Regions from separate parts of the Homo sapiens genome. Here region 1 is linked to region 2. Evidence: promoter capture Hi-C in 16 types of primary human blood cells and fetal thymus (Javierre and others, 2016). All regions are on one chromosome and are shown on one strand. The core of a region is centred on a gene start or on the middle of the fragment in contact, and the rest is flanking DNA. Distances in the headings are between cores, read along the strand shown.

Region 1 (5,984 bases), core at 460-2,959, 410 kb after region 2:
AAGCCTGGGCAATATGGCAAAACCCCGTCTCTACTAAAAATACAAAAATTAGCCAGGTGTGGTGGTGTGCACCTGTAGTCCCAACTATTTGGGAGGCTGAAGTGGGAGGATCGATGCCTGGGAGGTGGAGGCTGCAGTGAGCCGAGATCGTGCTACTCTCCAAGCTGGGCGACAGAGATCCTGTCTCAAAATAAAATTTTAAAAATCTACTCTCTTGTCAACCTAAAGGAAGAAGCTGAGGCACTAAATATAATTTTAATGAGTTTACTTGAGCCAAGATGAGGACAGCTGCCCAGAAGACTCAGACCTGATAACCTTGTATAAGAGTTCCATTTGACCTTTGTGAAAAGTAGGTTTTTATAGGCAAAAAAGGAAGACGGTGGGCTGATACAAAGTTGTTTTTCAGGAATTCCCATTGGTTTACAGAAATGACATTGATTAGTGATTAGCTATACATTGTTGAACTCTAGGGCGTGAGTTATGGTGTCCATCATGCAACATTGTTAGGTTAACTTACAGCTATTTGCAGCGACAGTCAGTCTAGAGTCCACATAGCAAGAAGCTTCAAGAGGTGATGAGCTCAAGCAGGGAAAGTGGGATGTCACTGCTGCCTTACTCCCATGCCTCTTTGGGCCTGATAATTTAGAGGAGGCTTACATTCCTCAGAGAAGGTTTCTTTTCTTTCTCACTCTTAAAACAATTAAGTACCTTGCTTGTTGAAGTCACACAGCGAGCAAGTTACGGATCTTGACTTCAAGCCTAGGTTTGAGACTCCGAAGCCTATTTTCTTTATAATATATTATACCAGAGCTTCTGAACCTTGGGCATACATTAGAGTCAAATGGTTAAATTTGCACAAAGCCCTACCCCCAGAGAGTCTAATTTAATTGGTCTGGAGTAGAGCTCAGGTTTTTTTTTTTTTTTTTTCTGAGACAGAGTCTGGCTCTGTTGCCCAGGCTAGAGTGCAGTGGCATGGTCTCTGCTCACTGCAACCTCTGCCTCCTGGGCTCAAGGAATTCTTCTGCCTCAGCCTCCCACGTACCTGGGATTACAGGCGCCCACCACCATGCCTGGCTAATTTTTGTACTTTTAGTAGAGACAGGGTTTTACCATGTTGGCCAGGCTGGTTTCGAATTCCTCACCTCAAGTGATCCACCCACCTCAGCCTCCCAAAGTGCTGGGATTACAGGCATGAGCCACCTTGCCCAGCTAGAGCTCAGTTAATTTTAAAGCTTCTGGGTGATTTTAATGTGTTGGCTGGTTTGAGACCACTGATGGGAAGTATAGTTTATCTATCATGATAAATTGGTGGAAAATGCCCCTTATTGACTATTTTTTTGAGGCTGTATTATATAACTCTTTAATGTATTCACGTAGTCAAAAAACACAATAAAATTCCTTTAATCAGATTACAGTCTACAGACTAAACAACTGAGATTCAGTCATTTAATTAACTGACATCCCTTCTTCTAACCCACTTGTCGACTATTTTTAAGGTGATTGTATTTTCCCAGAAAGTACTGAAAAACATACAGGAAGGGACACGGGAGTACGATAACCTAACTTTCAACCTTGGCTTTGATATTTTCTTGCTAAATGGACTTTGACAAGTTACTTAACATTCTGTAAAATATTGATTATGAAAGAAGTAAAAGGTATTCTTGAAAAGGGTTTTATCTGGGGACAGATGGAGGGAATGCTGCCTCTGGTGGCCTCCTGTTGGGGTCAGATGCATATAGTGCATTGAAAAGGCCATGGGAAAACTTTTCTAGTTTTCCTAGTCAGCCTGGCTGTAAAGCCCATCTTCTACTTTCTGCCCCTGCTGCCAACCATTTCCCAAACCACCCTTCTCTTTACACCTAGTCAGGGGTGATTCCTTCATTGCCAGACCACATGGCATTATTGGGAAGTGGCCAGGAGAGGAGGACTCCCTTTTAACCATAGATGCCAGGGTAGGGAATATGTGCTTGAGGGGAGGGAAAGGAAATGGATATTTTCAATCTCATATTAGATTAGACATGAAATATATTTTACCATAGGAACAATCTCTGGATGGTAATTAGGTTTCCTGGTTATTCAATTAAAGCCTATTCATAATTTTGCCAGATATTTACAATATTTTATATGCAAATAACAGTGTATTTCAGTAACATTTTGGGTTCAATAGGCCTTGAAGAATTAGTGTGAAAGCTTAACTGTCATTTTTAACACCGCTTCTGTGAGAAATACGAGATCAGTACTTAGCACTCCAAGAAATAGTTTCTCTCGTCTCTAATTCAGCTTAACAAATATAGCGTTCACTGATCATCTAGTGAAGAGGGAATGAGGCAGCTGAAAGAATCCCATTTCCTCTCTGAAGTTTAGCAGAACTCTTTTAGCTACTGATTATAAGATCACAACGTACTTGAGGCCATGGGCCATTTCTTTCCTTCATTTGTGTTCCCCTTCCCCCTGAACAACTTATCACATAGTATGAGCACGTTGTAGATGTTAATGTATACATAGATTAGATTTGAAATTGGTAATGACCTCACTGTCAATGGAAAATAGGACACTGATCATCCATACCATACAGTGACAAAACATTTCTTAAATGATCAGCTTTTGTTGCTGGTAACCAGGTGCCTCTCAGCAGCAAGGCTTAAGAGATGAAGTAACTGGTGCAATAAAATATTATAGTGGAAATTATGAGCACGAAGGCCATGGGAAAGGTTCTGCTTGCACTAGAAACTACCTAAAAGACTGTCTTGTTTCTTGTACCAGTGGGGCTGAAATAGCCAAAAAACAAACCTAAATTTGCTTCTACAGCTTTCAGCATTACAGTGCAGCCTTTCTAGGCATAGGTTAGTAGAGTGGGATCCTGTGAATGGAAATATTTGGGTAGGTTCTAATGAATCCAACTACAAATCCTTCACTTGTGTTTCCCTTCCTCCAAAGAAATCTATCACATAGTATAAGCACATTGCGGATGTTAACATACACATAGATTAGACTTGAAATCAGTAATGGCCTCACTATCAATGGAAAATAGGATACTGATAATTTGTACAATGTAATGACAAAACATTCCTTAAAATATCACCAATTGTTGCCTGAATTAACAAACTCCACTGAGTCTTAGTTGTTAGTAGGAGCAGTCCTCCTCTTCCATCTGATAACCTGTAATAATTTCACCTGAGGTGGTTTATTTGCAGGAAGATGACGAATCTCCTAAATGTTAATTCTCACTACTTATCACTTCCAGACCCTGACCTATTCCATAATTAGGTTCAAATCCTCAAAGACCTCAAGGAAGATGGGGAAAGAGAAACATTAGAAAATATGCACGATGGTTGCAGTCTACACAATTTATGAGGCCATAGTAGGTATTTGTAACTCCCTCTTCCACTTCCCTTCCCATGCTCCCTTTGCTCAGTTATCATTTTAGCTAGGTGTTATTATTTATCAGTCAGAGTGACCTGAACCTTCATTCCTGAAATATCTGAACCATTGTGGTTCTTGCTTGGCTTGGTTTGCTCTAATCTTGTAAATTTTACCATGGATATGGAAGGAATTGCTCAGATATGGATATGAAAGGAGTTGCTCAGAGAATGTCTTGCCTTTGAGACATGGTCTTCCCTCTGTTTTGTAGTACCACCACTTTTCCCACTTTATGATTAGGATTAATTGTCCCAGCGAATACAGTAATCCCTTTCTTTCCTTGTTGGTTCAGTGCCTTGAAGACCTCAAAGTGGCTGATGTGGCAGTCTCAGCTTCCATTCAAAGGAACCCTTCTAGTGTTTCCTGGAAAAAGTATTCCTTCCATGGAAACTAAGAGCACAACATTGTGAGGTTGGAAACAAAAGTTATGTGAGTAGGTCATTAGGAATAATAATGGAACCACCAATACTTTTACACTTTCATTTTCAGATCTAAGTATTCTGGCTATGGAAGAAATAGCATTATATATTAGTTGCTGGCTTGGGAAATATACAATAACTTGTGGGACAGCAACCTAGTCTTACAAGTGGCAACATAAGTTGTCAATAGATTATTCTACCATTTAATCAAGTCAGATTTTTCCAACAGACATGAAACCATTTCTTCAACTCAGATTCCTTAAATCTCTCATCAGTGAGACTAGCCAGATCATAGTGGGAGAAAAGAATCCTATGTTCTTAAGCCCACACGTGATCAACATGCCCGTTGCTAGGGCCAAAGTGTTCATGGGCCCATTGTACAAGCGCCAGGGTAGCTAGGGGAGGCAGCTAACTGGCATCCACAGGATTGGCCATACTCTTTACTTGATTACTGAGAATCTGTTTTACAGTGGATGCCTTTTAGTAAGCATTAATTTGGGACACAGATATTCTCACTCTGCTTACTCTGAGAGGCCCGTCCTAAAACTCTTCCTCAGGCCTCCCTTTAACCATTCCTCAAATTCTGTTTTCCAACCCGCTGACTCCTTGGCCAAAGTGCCACTTGCCTGTGAATCAATGTCGATCTCTACTTCTGTCTGTCTTCCAGTTAGGTTTTGAATCATACATCATGAACCCTTCCACCCTGAGGTCTTTCCACCCTGCTCAGGGGCATCCTCAGAGCAGGCTCTATAGTGTTCCCAATTGGTCATGAAACCAATAAACCTCTATAACCTTTCTAGTCAGAATGGGACAATCTTCTATCTTGTTCTTTTTACTTAAAGCCCTCTTCTCCCTTCCTTCTCCAGGGCTCCTACCATAATCTTTTGTATAAAAGATAAGGAGTTTTAAAACCTCAGATGGCTTAAGTTTTCCCCATGCAAAAAATTCCGGACACACACAAAAAAGTAGAAAAGAACCTGGCTACCTGCTTGAATAATTGGAGAGGAAAAAATTACAGAGATCATCCCTGAAACACTGTAAAGTATGTATAGCTGATATTATTATACCTATTTTAAAGATGGCAGAAAGGAAATGTGGAAGGAGTAAAGTGACTTTGCCAAAGCTTCCATAACTACCTAAGAATATGATCAGGGACCAGGATTATGCCTTCTGGTACAGTGAGAGGAGAGTGAATGCACAAACCCCATGATCGTGATATGTCTGGGGACCTCTGATTTAAGGAGTGGAGAAAGAGAAGTATTGATTGGTAGAAGAAAAATGAAGATGCAAAGAGCACTCATGAGTGGGTGGTCCCAGAGCTCTGAGTAGAGGGTAAGAATCAGAGTCAGGCCTTCCAGAAAATCCCAGTATAAGGTCCTTTACCATCGTTTCCTTTTTGTCCCTTTGCTTAGTACATTATCAACAAGTTTTAGAGGCAAAGAATGGAAAAGGACGTAAAAAGAATATCCAAATAAATATTTCAAAAAGATTAAAATAGAGATGTGGAACATAGGTAACCTAGTGAAGGACAGAACTACTTAACATTCCAAAAATAAATTTGAGTCAGATACAAAGTTGTATAAACTCATAAAGGCTAAAGAAAAAAAAAGTATCATGTTAATATCAATTAGAAATTCTCTCTTCGGCAAAATTGAGTTTTAGTTAACTAGATCAAGTGAATATTTTAAAATCAGTGTAAGAGATTTTTCCTGGACATCTCATTTTGTGTGTTATAGATACTTTTATTAGTTGTAACAGAAAACTCCACTGATGGAAACAGGCCCAAGAATTGAGGAGACATCTTTACATTCTGGTAATCCCAGCTGTGTGACCTAAAGCAAGTCATTTAACCTCTCTGGGCCAAAGGCCTGTTTCATCAATTATGAAGTAAGGAGGTTATGCTAAATGTCCTCTAAGCGTTCTCCCAGCTCTCAAAATCAGTTTTTCTATGAAAATTTTAGTTATTCTCATGGAAGCCCTGACTTAGGTTTTTAGTTTAAAAGATAGGCTCCAGCAGGGGTCACTATAGCCACATCGAGCTTTGAGTCCAATGCTCTTTCATGTTGTAGTTGATTGTGTGCAAATCACAGTTACCCTTTGTCTTGATTTTTCCATCTGAGACATAGACTCTCTTTGTACCTAAAT
Region 2 (6,023 bases), core at 1,691-4,190:
ATCTGACACTCACTCCAGGTAGATAGAGGCAGGATTAAACTGTAGGATACCCAGCTGGTATTCAGAGAGCTGGAGAATTGCTTGGTAATTCTCCACACATCTGGTGGAAAAAATCCACACATCTGGTGTCAGAAGTGTTGTGTGAGAGTGAAGAGAAACAGTTTGTTTTCCCAGACTCACTCTCTTTGATCACTCCATCCAGAAATGATTCAGTTCCCTCTCTTCAGGGACCATGGTTTAGACAGGGTCCTGTTTCATGGATAAAAGAACTACAGGTTTAAAGAAGCTAAACAATTTGCTTGAGGTTCATCCTCCTGAACAGTACTTGTTACTTCTATTACATCTTTTTAGGCAGCTCATTTTCCCACCCCAGTAACTTTTAAAGACTACAGTTGACCCCTGAACAACACATTTGAACTGTGCAGTTCCACTTATATGTGGATTTTCTGCCTCTGCCACCCCGAGACAGCCCCTTCTCCTCCTCAGCCTACTCAACCTGAAGACAAGAATAATTACGTCTTCCTCTACTTACTATGTCTTGCCTCTCATCCACAGTCACTCTCTCCACCTTTTTGTCTATTTACTCCAACCTGACATCCACCCACATTACTCAACTGTTAACTGCCATACCAGTGTCACTGTGAAATCTGTCCATTAGGATCGACACCATTTCTGGATCTGGCCACCCTTTGATTCTTTAATCACAGTAGCAAATAAATTTTAGGATCCGGACAAACAGGTCAGTAACCTGGCAAAGGCTTTCACATGCCCCGAATTTATTCCCTGGAAGATGCAATGTTCAACCAAAATTTAGATACTGCCTACATAGCTTTCATCCCTCAATCTGAAAGCAGACAACTTCAAGTGTCTGTGTGGGCCTGAGCACTAAATTGACATTGCTTATATTGGGAGTAGATGAACTTAAGAGGTTTGCCCCACGGCCTAGAATTGAATATTATAACACCAATACAGTTTAATACTGAAAATAGCTATAACTTACATAATGCTATATTCCAGGTGCTACTCTACTCTATGAGATTTAAATGTATTAATCAGTCAAACTTTTATAAGGAATTTCCAGGTCATCTGCTCCACCAGAATACTGAGAGAGACAGAGAGAGGATACACATGCATGTGTGTGAACCCCAAGAGGGCCTGGGCATTTACAACCTTCTGCTATTCAATCCCATTAGCTCTGGGATGGAGTTCTGTGTTGATCCTTTAAAAAATGAGGCATCTCTTTCCGAAGATTTGAGACACATGGAACAAACCATTTGGCTACCCAGGGGGAAACAATCCTTGAAGTAGGAGAATGTACATATATGGTTCATATTTCTTAAGTGCAAACATGCAAATCTTTGTAAAAAAAAAAGCCCTGGAATAGTCCTCATAAATTTATTAATATTTATTTCCATAGTAGCTAAAATAATGACATGGTTACTGGAAGAGAAATTCTGCCCCAAACAGTCACCAAGAACTTCCAAGCTGCTGCATTCAGTGGAAGTTTGTTCTCATCTCCCCTGACCGAGCAGCAGCATCCGATAAAGTTGGCCATTCCTTTTTTTTTTTCCACACACTTCTTTGGCTTCTGTGACCAATTTTGGTTTTCCTCCTGCCTTCTTGGCTGTTCTTTTTGTCTTCTTTGCTGACTTCACTCTCTCTACCTGACGTTTAAATGTTAAATTTCTCAGGTCTCTAATCCTTGGTTCTCAACTCCTCATTCTGCACGCTCTCCCTTGGTGATTTCAACCCCACTCCTGGCTTCAATTACTATAAATCTGCCAAAATTTATACATCTAACCCCTACTGCCATTCTTAGCCCAGAACTGTTTATCTAAAGCATATCTCACATCTCAATTTCTCTCACAGGTACTTCAAGGTCAATTAGTACATAACTGAACTCTTAATCTTGCCCTGATATCCTGTTGCTCCTGACAGAAATGTGGTTCTGACTTGGACACAACCTTCTTTTTCAACATATCCCCAATCTGTCACCAACAGGCAACCTCATTATTTTTCAAATCTGTCCACAGTCCCTGAGCCCCACCTCCACTGCCACTACTGTAGGCTAATCCTTTGGGATGAAATTCAAAATCATTACTCAGCAGCCTGCATGATCTGTCCATCGCGCACCTCAGCAGCTCGGTTTGTGCCCACATCTCTCTTGTTCTCTAAGCAGGGTTTTGCGGTTTCTCAACCATTTCAACTTTGTTCTCACTTCAATTCTTTCTCTCCTGCTGTTCCCTGTTCCTGAAAAGCTACTTGTCCAGTCCTTTGCTTGGGTAGCTCTTTTCCATCTTCTAGGCTCGGAGGGGAAAAGGGCACTTCCTTAGGCAGCCTTTCCTAGCCCTGGGCTAGGTTAGCTTTCATTCGAGTGCTGTCATTCCATCTAATATTGGCACACTGTTAAATATAGCTGTGAGATGATCTGTTCAACTGTAAGCTCCTTGGGGTTTCGTGTCTGCCCTGTTTTCTAGGGTTTCCAGCTTGTAGCTGGGTGCCTGACTCATAATAGGTGTTCCATAAATGCTTGTTGAATGAAAGAATGATGATGGAGGTGGTATTCCAACTCGGGACTGCCTCAACGCCCGGCGCTGTCTCCTCTGCTACTCTGTTTCGGTGTTTTAGCAGAGGCAGATAGTGAGGGCGGCACAGTGCCCACGGCATGCCGCTGGACTAAGCGCTAAGCGGGCTTGGGATGATGCGCACGCGGGGGGTCTGAGCCAGCCAAGGGGCCGGGCGCCGCCTGGGGGCGCTGCGGCTGCTGCGGGACGCACCAGGCCTAGTCGCCCGCAGGCTCCGCCCGAGGAGCAGCCCAGCCACCCCAGGGCCCGGAGGACCAACCGCTTCGACCCGCGCCCGGGCGGCGGCAGTGTTGGCCGGCGAGGCGAGGAGGGCCGGGCCGCCACGGTGGGGCGAAAAGCCCTGAAAGTTCCTCTCAGTTCCTTCCGGTGCGCCTCCCGCTCGCCCTTGCGGAGGCCCTGAGGGCGGATTCAAGGCCCCGCGAGAAGCCATCTGAGGCGGCGACGACTGTTCTCAGCCCCACGGGAACGCCGCGGACGCAGCGTCCCTCTCCCGGACAAGAAAACAGCCATTCTAGAGTAGGTTCCTCCCCTTTCCTTGTTTTTTCCCCTTTCCCGTGCCCATGGCTGACGCGAGCTGCTTTTGGACGTGGGTCCCGGGCTTGACTGGACAGACGTGGGTTCTGTTTCTGAAAGGCGTAAAACCTCAGACTTGTCCTGCAACCTCCTGGTCTCCGTTTTTGCCTCTATAAAGTGGGCATAACAAGGTCTGACTCACTGACCTGGGGTCTCAGGTGTGGCGCCCAAACCAGCACTATCAGCATTTCCTGTAACTTTACTAAAACGCATATTTTCTGGCCCCACTACAGCTCATTGAATCAGAAACTCAGTGGTGGGATTCAGCGATTTGTATTTGAACAAGCCCCAGGTGATTTTGATACAAGCTAAATTTTGAGAACCACTATATAATAGAGACCAATCAGATGAAATAAATCAAACCATTATATAGTAAAGAACCTGGCTCAATAAATAGTAGTTGTGGTTATTATTATTTCAGGAATAGACAGGCATTCATTGGCACAGAAATTGAAGGTTAAGCAAATGCTTCTTTCCTTTTCTTTTTCTTTTTTTTTTCTTTTTTTGAAACAGTGTTTTTCACACTTGTTGCCCAGGCCACCGCAACCTCCGCCTCCTGGGTTCAGCCTCCTGTCTCAAGCCCCGCGAGTAGCTGAGATTACAGGCATGTACGACCACGTTTGGCTAATTTTGTATTTTTAGTAGAGACGGAGTTTCTCCATGTTTGTCAGGCTGTTCTCGAACTCCTGACATCAGTTGATCTGCCCGACTTGGCCTCCCAAAGTGCTGGGATTACACGCATGAGCCACTGCGCCCCACCCTTTTCTTTTCTTTCATGCAGGTCAGTATAGTCTTGCTTTAAAAAACTGAAAACAAAATAAATATCCATATGATTTGGATATTTATCCCCTCCAAATCTCATGTTAAAATAGATTCCCCAATGTTGGAGGTAGGGCTTGGTGCGAGGTGTTTGGATTATGGGGGTGGATCCCTCATGAATGGCTTGGTGCTTTCCTGGCAGAGTGAACTCTACCTCTGAGCTCATGAAAGATCTGGTTGTTTAAGAGTAGACACCTCCCCTTTCTCTCTATTGTTCCGTCTCTTACCATGTGACACACTGGCTCCCCTTCCCCTTCCGCCATGATTGTAAGCTTGGTCTCACAAGAAGCTGAGCAGATGCTGGTGCCATGCTTGTACAGCCTGCAGAATTGTGAGCCAAATAAACCTCTTTTCTTTATAAATTATGCAGTCTCAGGTATTCCTTTATAGCAACACAAACAGACTAACACGAACATATACAAAAGAATGCCTCTCCAACAACAAAATAGGTATGTAACAGTAGCTTCTCACAGATAAACTTAACGTTTCTTTTTGACATACATCTTCTTGTCTTTTGAATTCTTTGAAAAGCAGAACATGGTTAATGATAAAGGTTTTATAATTTTAATTATTTTAATTCAAATTTCAGTTTTCATATACTGCAGTTATTTTTAATTTGAAAACTATAATGGTTGACCATGAAAAATTAATCTTATGTAGGTGAAAGGTACAGATTTATTTCTAGACAAATCCAGTTTCATTGGCATGTCAGATTTTATTGATAATCTTTTCCTTCTTATTCATTGCAGAAGCTTCAAAAAGGACACACTAGATTTAATTAGAAATGTTAAGATTGCCCAAAAAAGGATTACCTAGATTTGAGCAAGTTCAGGATGAAGACACCTACCTGGAAAATTTAGCAATACAAAGAAATGCATCTGCTTTTTTTGAAAAATATGATCGGAGTGAAATACAAGAGTTACTAACTACTGCACTAGTTAGCTGGTTGTCTGCCAAAGAGGATGTGCGCTCTCAAGTAGACCTCCCATGTGGAATTATGAGTCAAATGAATAACGTAGGCTTCTCCACTGCAATCCTACTGACTCCCGTGGACCCTACTGCCCTCTTAGACTATAGAGAGGTCCATCAAATGATAAGAGAGTTGGCTATTGGAATTTATTGCCTAAATCAAATCCCTTCCATCAGTTTAGAAGCTAATTATGATCAGAGTTCTTCTTGTCAATTACCTCCAGCTTATTATGATACCAGAATTGGGCAAATTCTGATCAATATTGACTACATGCTGAAAGCACTATGGCATGGAATATATATGCCCAAAGAAAAACGAGCTAGATTCTCTGAATTGTGGCGTGCCATCATGGACATTGATCCTGATGGAAAACCTCAAACAAATAAAGACATTTTTTCAGAGTTTAGTTCAGCAGGTAAGAGAATTTAACACTTCTTAAATTTTTTTTTTTTTTTTTTGGAACAGAGTCTTACTACGTCACCCAGGGTGGTCACGAACCCCTGAGCTCAAGCCATTCACCCACCTAGGCCTCCCAAAGTGCTAGGATTACAGGCATGAGCCGCTGCACCTGGCCACTTCTTAATTATTTTTATTCAATGCCATTTTTAAAATTTTTAAATTTTATTTCGATAGTTTTTGGGGGAACAGGTGGTTTTTGGTTACATGGCTAAGTTCTTTAGTGGTGATTTCTGAGATTTTGGTGCACCCATCACCTGAGCAGTGTACACTGTACCCCATGTGTAGTCTTTTATCCCTCATTTTCTTCCTACCTTTCCTCTAGAATCCCCAAAGTCCATTATATCATTCTTATGCCTTTGCGTCCTCATAGCTTAGCTCCCACTTATAAGGGAGAACATAAAATATTTGGCTTGCCATTCCTGAGTTACTTCACTTAGAATAATGGTCTCCAACCCCATCCATGTTTCTGTGAATGCCATTATTTAATTCATTTTTATGGCTGAGTAGTATTTCATGGTATATATATTTTCTTTCTTTCTTTTTTTTTTTTTCTTTTTTGGAGATGGGGTCTCCCTGTGTTGAACAGGCTGGCCTCGAACCCCTGGCCTCATATGATC

What was found. Contacts are between HindIII fragments. The CHiCAGO score rates a contact against its expected background, and 5 or more counts as called.
Region 1: a fragment that was not itself captured here is called in contact with the fragment with the promoter of ANKAR in region 2 in 5 of 17 cell types (M2 macrophages, total B cells, naive B cells and 2 more); the score reaches 8.1 in M2 macrophages.

Annotation. Positions count from the first base shown.
Region 1 is chr2:190,083,182-190,089,165 of GRCh38, forward strand. It overlaps a transcript of AKAP19 not described here. Among named protein-coding and RNA genes, the nearest start is that of MSTN, 23 kb to the left of the region's middle. The HindIII fragment of the contact is 958 bases long and covers 1,231-2,188 here.
Region 2 is chr2:189,671,730-189,677,752 of GRCh38, forward strand. It overlaps ANKAR (ankyrin and armadillo repeat containing), which reads left to right and starts at 2,941. Exons shown (of 23, transcript NM_001378068.1): 1 at 2,941-3,101; 2 at 4,727-5,362. The coding sequence starts at 4,762. It overlaps LOC105373793 (a long non-coding RNA gene), which reads right to left and starts at 2,556. Exons shown (of 2, transcript XR_923692.3): 1 at 2,102-2,556; 2 at 1,391-1,664. RefSeq lists a silencer at 2,597-3,016 and an enhancer at 3,067-3,326. The HindIII fragment of the contact is 6,953 bases long and covers 1-4,247 here.